2 separate regions of the Homo sapiens genome follow, and region 2 is linked to region 1. Evidence: promoter capture Hi-C in human tissues and cell types (Jung and others, 2019). All regions are on one chromosome and are shown on one strand. Each heading gives the region's core, a stretch centred on a gene start or on the middle of the fragment in contact. The rest is flanking DNA. Distances are from core to core; before and after follow the strand shown. Region 1 holds the start of SKIDA1 (SKI/DACH domain containing 1). Region 2 has its middle 81 kb from the start of NEBL-AS1.

Region 1 (3,802 bases), core at 38-2,537:
CCTCAGGAAACCCCAAATCTAGAAGGAAATACAGCAAACCCTAGAACGCTTTTAACCCTTAAGACATCTTGTATTAAAAGAAAAAAAAAGCATGTATGTCTTAAAACCGGCCAAAGAACCATCTCCTCGCTCTTTATTTCCTCCTGTAAATGCTATTATTTTAAACTCTCCATTTTAAACTCGTCCTTCGGACGAGAGGGCAGAGAATGTGCCCGGCAGCACGCAGCAAATCAGAGGTTTTATCTTACGCCTCCTGGGACTGGGAAAAAAAGTGGAACGTGGCCGAGGGAGCTTCCAGGGCAGAAAAGCGACACAATTCGCTGGGGACGCCGCTGGGCCAGGCCAGGCGGGGGAGGCGCGGCGGGGGCGTCGAGGGCTCTCGGGCTCCGGGCCGGGGCGCCGCTGCGAGGAGGGGAGGCGGTTTTAAGTCATGGGGGCTGGGAGGGCGGCGGCGGGTCGGGCGTGACGAGACTTTCGGAGGCAGGATGGGGCGGCGGTGGAGTTGCCTGGGCTTTCTCAGCACCCCCCCCAACACACCCAAATAAAAAAAGGAAAGTTAGAAGGAGGCGGAGAGGAGGACAGCCATCCCCATTTCCTCCCCGCGACGCCGCGGAAGGGCTGGGGCCGCTGCGAGCAGAGAGAGGGCGCGGGATGAGGCGGGCCAATCGCAGTCAACAGGTCCAGGCCTCAGTGGGGCAGCTGAGCCGGGAGGCCGGCGCCCCCTCCCCTCGGCTCCCCGTCCCTCCCCTCCCTCGCAGGCCCGGCGCGGTAGGGGAGGCCCGGCCCGGCCCTCCCCGCCCCGCGCGGACTCGCTGCGGCCGACTCCGCCGGGGCAGTCGGGGTGGGGGTGGGGCGGGGGTTCCCCGCCGGAGAATCCTCCCCCGGGGCTGGCGGCGGGGGCGGGGAGCGAGAGCCGGGAATGGAGGATTAGGAAGGACTCCAGCTCGGCACGAGCGCGGCCCGCGCGAGGGATCCTGGGTAAAAAGTGGCCGCGCGGCACCGGAGAGCGCGGAGAGGAGCCGGGGTCAGGGGTCACGGCCCTGGAGCCCCGCGTGCAGAGCCCCCCACGTGAACGCAGCGAGCAGGAGGAACCTTTTTGTTTTCGACCGCGCCAGCATGCTCCCCTATTGACCGAGCTGCTTTTCCTGGGCTGCTGGGGAGAGGAGCTCCATTGCGGAGCTCTTAACCCCACCCCCACCTTCCACCGCCAACACACTTCCCAACTCAACCCTTCCTCTCAACTCTCATCCCAGCCCCCCGTCCTGAGCTTGCAATAACGCAGTAAATTTGCTTTAACAACAAGTGGGGGTGGTTGAATTTACTCCTCCCTCTCCTCTCTCCTCCCCTTCCTCTTGCTGCGGTTCTTGACACTACTACAAACCAGGACTATAAACATAAACATGTGTCACTGTAACAGGGCAGGTAATATACGGATTTTGAGGCGGGGTGGGGTGGAGCGGGGCTTGGTCGCCGCTTGGAGGGCAGTAAAAAGTCGCGTTTCACGTGCTCGACGGCTTTGGGGACTCCCGCACACATCGATCCGTTTATATAATGCCGAAGGCACTTGGTCACTTATTCAGCCACGCAGACCCACAAAGCCAGACTTGCGGATAACCAGCGTACCCCAAAGCAAATGCATTTCAATACGAATCCCTCTCCTTTCCCAGCCAGTGCTGCCATTTCTTCTATTAGCAAACAGTAACGTGATACTTGAATCCCCTTTCCTTTTTAAAAATTCTTTTCCAGATAGCCATGAGATCATTTTTCGACCTAAATAGTACATCTCTCCCATAGCCACTACCTACACATTTTGTGCGCAGAAACCCCTTCAAACAGCAAGAAAGTCTATTTAAATGACTGAGTTCGAAATCTGGTGTGCAAAGGGTATTTCTTGGGCTTTGCCTCCGTGCATTGAGCAACTTCTGCTGCAAGTTGCTGACACTGGCGCGGTGGAGATCCGCCACAGCAAGCCTTTTTTATTATTATTTAGTCTATATCTGCCTCTCAACTTTTTTCTCATTCTTAGTTCAACAAGCCAGCAACCACTACTTAAGGTAGAGTAAAGCGAATCCCTTCCCAAGCTTTTTGGCTTGAAACGGAGGGAGATACAGAAAATGTTCAGATGGGGAAGTGGTTCCCTTTGTTCTTTCATTGTTTCTCTACGAACTGGTGGATACAAGGACAAACACTTACCTTCTCTTCTTTTTGCTCCACAAACCAGACGTTCCCATCAGCCTTAAAATACACAATCCACCTTGAAAGTAACTACGGATGTCGGGAGAGTTTGTATTCCATTCTTTTTCGCTCTCTGCCCTCTTTTAGCGTAGGATTAAGTTGCAGAGCACGTTGCTGCAAGCTGTAGCCCCCCCCCCCCCCCGCCTTAGTGAATCGGTCACGTTTAGGACCCTCTAAGTCCATCCTAATTCTGCCAGTAGAATTGAGGGTATTGGAGCTCTAAACTTTCAAAAGGAAAGGGGCCTGCAACTCTCCAGAAAACTTACAAATACCCCGAAATTTTTTACCATTGTGTTTTTGCACCACATCACCAAATAGTATTTGCCAAGAAATAATAGATATGTCTTTGAGAAAAAAAAATTTTTTTAAGTTTATACTTAGCAATGCGCTGCTTAGACAGATGTAGTAAAAGGCAGGTTTGTATCGGCATTTAACGGAATGAGTGCGTTTTCCATAACGTTTGTTGTGCCATGTGTTTTTTTAAAACACAAACAAAACACTACCCCAACTGAGAAAGGAAATAGAAGTTTGAATTAAAATGTTGTGGAACAACTTTAAAAGAGACGTTTACTTGAAATTTATTAGTGTAAAAATTGGCCTCAGAAGTGAAAAGTAAGCTTTTCAAAGTTAAAAGACTTAATTTTCACCCTATGATTCCATAACAAAAAAGCGAATTTTCTGGTTAATATGTGATACTGTCAGTGTTGAGTGTCCAGTCTTTTGGGTCTTAGTGTCCAAACCTTGCTCAAATCTGATTATGATGTGATTTGCTGATGTCATGAATATGAAATGATACTTGTGTATCCATAAATTCGAACTTGTGATTTTTTTTTTTTTTTTTTTATCTCCCGCTTTTTTGTAGGTTCCCAGTAGCTGCAGCAGTGAAAGACAGTGATTGGCTCCAGTGCTCCCAGAAGGATTTGGGCTGAAGCCAGGGGAACAGAACCAGAAGAGGATTCCCTTTCCAGAGACCATCAGGCTCCTCATGTCTTGTCTCTCCTCTCTCCCCTCGTGGTGGCTCAGGATTTCAGTATGGCTGAGCAGCCCATAGGTAGGCCTCAACACTTGGTGTCACCACTTCAGTCTCTATATGTTTGGCCCTTGTGTAAAATAAACAAAAACTTGGGCAACCCTAACAAATTGTGGTTCTGGATATTTGTGTATTATTTAATATCTGAAGGTCAAACTCTACTTTCTCTGATTTTTTTTCTTTTGCATTCAGGATCAATTGTGAAAGGCCCATGTGTCTCATAGGAAAATATTACAACAAAACAAGATAATTGGGGGGAAAGGCGGTTGCAGTAGGAAAAGTGGCTTTTCTTTGATAGCATTTAATTGGAATTAAAAGATTCTTGAGCTGTAAACATTCTTTATTTATTCAGCACACATAAGCAGGCATTGTTTTATCACCATCATAATTATGGTGTCCTTTAAACTGGCTGATAGCAGGAAAGATAAGGGAATGTGCCCACAGATTCAGATCAAGTCTCACTCCTTTCTTTTCCTCCCTGCCCCCTTCCCCCCACCCCATTCCTTCCTTGGTCACTAGGGTCCCCCACAGCCCTTG
Region 2 (3,611 bases), core at 236-2,735, 430 kb after region 1:
TCTCGGCTCACTGCAAGCTCCGCCTCTGTGGTTCACGCCATTCTCCTGCCTCAGCCTCCCAAGTAGCTGGGACTACAGGCGCCTGCCACTGCACCCGGCTAATTTTTTATATTTTTAGTAGAGACGGGGTTTCACCGTATTAGCCAGGATGGTCTCGATCTCCTGACCTCGTGATCCGCCCACCTCGGCCTCCCAAAGTGCTGGGATTACAGGCGTGAGCCACCGTCTCCGGCCTACACCTGGCTAATTTTTATATTTCTAGTAGAGATGGGGTTTTGCCATGTTGGCCAGGCTGGTCTTGAACTCCTGACCTCAAGTGATCCTCCCACTTCAGCCTCCCAAAGTGTTGGCATTACAAGCGTGAGCTACCACACCCAGCCCGGTCTTTTTTAGACTCTTAAGGACCCATAAGAACAAATTAAGTTGAGTAGTGATGCTTAATGTGTCAAACCACAGATAAATATAGTTTTCTATGGAAAGCTTAGAATGGAAAATAGTCTTTCACAAAAACGACAAAATGTTTTCTGGTTCCCGCAAAAAATATCTCTGTAGAAAAGAAGGTCAGTGAGAACTTTGTGTGATTCATGGATCATGAGTAACACATGCAATGAAGGCTAAGGAAACCAGTCTAGGACATTTTTATAAAAGATTTTCACAAGAAATGTATTGATTTGTTTACGAAGCAGTAGATTTTTCAGGATAAAATATTGTTCTCCTCTTCCAGTGGATGAGCTTAGATATACCTGAACAAGACAGAGATCTGTGGATACATGAGCTGAAGACATTCTGTATGTCTTTTCCTTTTCTTGGTTCTACCAACTCTTAATCTTGAAGAAAGCACTTAAAATGCTGTGACCCCCATCTGGTTGCATATTCTTTCTCCTGTTTCAGCTTGTTGGCAAGACTGGAAATTTGGAGATGGCATTCAGTTTACACAAGCTTAGCAGCTTATGAACACTGATGGATTTTTTCAGTGCCGATGGAGGGACTGATGAACTTGGCTTTGGGCGTCTGGTTCCCTTGACTTGATGGGTGAGAGGAGGAGACAGAGCAAGCCAAGAGAGATGACAGTCTCCCTTCTCCAGCCCATTTCTTTTTTTCTCACCTATAAAATTTTGTCCAACTCATGGTCCTATGATAAAATGCGTCCAATGCTTCTGGGCTGGTGGACCCTGGCACTACCATTCATGTCTTTCCCAAATACTTATCCTCTGAGTCACCCAGGCAGAAACAGCCAAGTGAAAAGATACCATATCTTGAAGAATCTTCATTTGGCTCTGCTAAAATGGAAAAAAAAAAAAAAAGACTTGTTGCTAAATGAATAAAAGTACTCTTAAAAAATTATTTCCTCTTTTCTCCTTGGTAGATACGCAAGAAGCCAAGAACAAAAATAAAATACAATAAATTGTACAAGGCAATTTAGATTTTCATTATTCTCTTGTCATAAACTGTTCCCACATCAGAGAAAATATACTGTGAGTCCACTTTGGATCCTGTCCATATGGGCTAGCTACTGAAAGTTCCAGAAAGACTTTAGAGTAATATAATTTCACAAGTTGCTTGGCATGGGTCTCTGATGGACAGGCTGGGAAAGCTGATAACATAAGCTGGTGAAAAGGCAAAGGCTTTTTAATGCCTTACTCGATTCATTCTTCATAAGAAATATCAGATGTGAAGGGGCCTGGAACAGTTCCCAGGTTTGATGAAAGTAGAGAGTCAAAATAGAAAAAGAGTTAAAAAGTGCTTTGAAGAACTGGAACTATTTGTATTAGTAAGGCCTGTTGGCTACTAAAGGAACTGGCAGGTGCTACTCTGGTGGTGAGCCATTATTATTATTATTATTATTATTATTATTATTATTATTATTAAATTATAGAGGTAAAAAGAAGTCCATGTGAATTAAAATATAGTATTGTGACTAGCTTATAAAACACACAGCCAGAATAGATTGACAAGGGAAATTATAGGCAGGTCAGACGAACTTCAAATACATGAAGTGATATCGGAATAAATCATCACATAATTTACTGTTACTTCTAGAGGAACATAGTAAAAAACAGGGTTTTGCACAAACTAAATGGTATTAGAGCAATCTAACTGCCTTCTATATTTAGAAGCACAGGCAAACAGTGGGATAGTACTAGATATGTTTATTTTAACTTTGGGAAGCTGGTGCTTTCTCTTGACTGTAGTAATGGCATATCAATGAATGAATGAATGAATGAATGGCACACCCGTAGAACATGTATCCTTGTTCCCACAATCAATGAAAGACCATATGAGTAGTGATAGCACATAACGACCAGTTCTGCTTAATGTATCTTTGGACAACTTGATGAAGAATTGAGAACAGAACTCTTCCATTATCAGATTGCCTGTAGTTGCTGATACTCTGTAAGATACGACATAACTAAAATCGCCCTTAACAAATAGAAGAAAAAGATATGTTATAGGGTTAAATTAGCTATGGGTAAAAATATCAATAGCAAATGCAAGATGAGAAAAAACTATCTGAAAGTGACAAGGTGGGCGTGGTGGCTCTTGCCGGTAATCCCAGCATTTTGAGAGGCTGAGGCAAGAGGATTGCTTGAGTCCAGGAGTTCAAGATCAGCCAGGGTAAGATAGCAAGACTCCATTTCTACAAAAAATAAAAATAAAAAAATTTGCCTTGTGTAGTTGCGTGCATCTGTAGTATTAGCAACTTGGGAGCCTGAAATGGGAGGATCCCTTGAGCCCAGGAGTTTGAGGCTGCAGTGAGCTATAATTGCGCCACTGTACTTCAGCCTTGGACAGAGTGAGACCCTGACCCCCATCCCCCAAATAATATAATAAAATGAAAGTAGCAATCTAAGCATGAATTAATAAGTTCAAGTGGAGAGATGAAGAACAACGACTGAATTTGGGAGAATTTCAGAGGAAACTTGAGGTACTGATAGCTAATTGGATAAAGAAGTGAAGTATTTTTGTTTTGTGTTAACAGTGTATTTTGTAGGCTGCCTATTTGTCTCATACATTTTTTTCATTGTGATAGAAAGAACATAACATCTAGCTAGCATCCTTGATGCTTTATTCTTTTTTATTTATGTATTGAAATGGCCCAGACACATGAACTCTTAAGATTTTTGAGGAAAATGAGAATCCAAGTTCAAATGTTCTGGCAGGAAAATTTTATAACCAAGATGTTTCATAAGGGGCAACCTCCGGCCCCCAACAATGGAATTGCATGTGTAGACATTTAAAGTCTTCTTAGCTAAATGTGAAACACGAACTTGTTTTCTTGACTGCAGTCAAAGGCTATGTTAGTAAGCCAGGAAAGAGATGATGGAGGCTTGAACCCAGTTCACAGTGGTAGGGAAGGAAATACACAGACGAATCCGAGAGAGGTTCAGGAGGTGGAGTTGACCTTGGGGCATGGAGGAGAGGGAGGAATCAAAATTGTGCTGAGGTTCTAGTTGGGGTGGCTGGGTGGGTGGTGGTGGGACGCTGGGAAAAAATTGGCATTTTTGGTATAGAATAATGACCTTGGTTTTGTCTTGTTGAGCCGGAAGTGTCTGCAGGTCATCTGCATGGATCTGCTGGTGGGTTGGAGATGTGTTTCTAAAGCTCAGTAG

Evidence for each region. Contacts are between HindIII fragments. The study calls those that stand out against the background at their distance.
Region 2: a contact is called between a fragment that was not itself captured here and the fragment with the promoter of SKIDA1 in region 1, in 1 of the 25 tissues and cell types used here (dorsolateral prefrontal cortex).

What each region holds. Positions count from the first base shown.
Region 1 is chr10:21,523,167-21,526,968 of GRCh38, reverse strand. It overlaps SKIDA1 (SKI/DACH domain containing 1), which reads left to right and starts at 1,287. Exons shown (of 4, transcript NM_207371.4): 1 at 1,287-1,422; 2 at 3,098-3,286. RefSeq lists silencers at 263-412, 533-952 and enhancers at 608-1,251, 1,252-1,895. The HindIII fragment of the contact is 2,515 bases long and covers 1-2,467 here.
Region 2 is chr10:21,090,844-21,094,454 of GRCh38, reverse strand. It overlaps a transcript of NEBL not described here. Among named protein-coding and RNA genes, the nearest start is that of NEBL-AS1, 81 kb to the left of the region's middle. The HindIII fragment of the contact is 3,576 bases long and covers 1-3,273 here.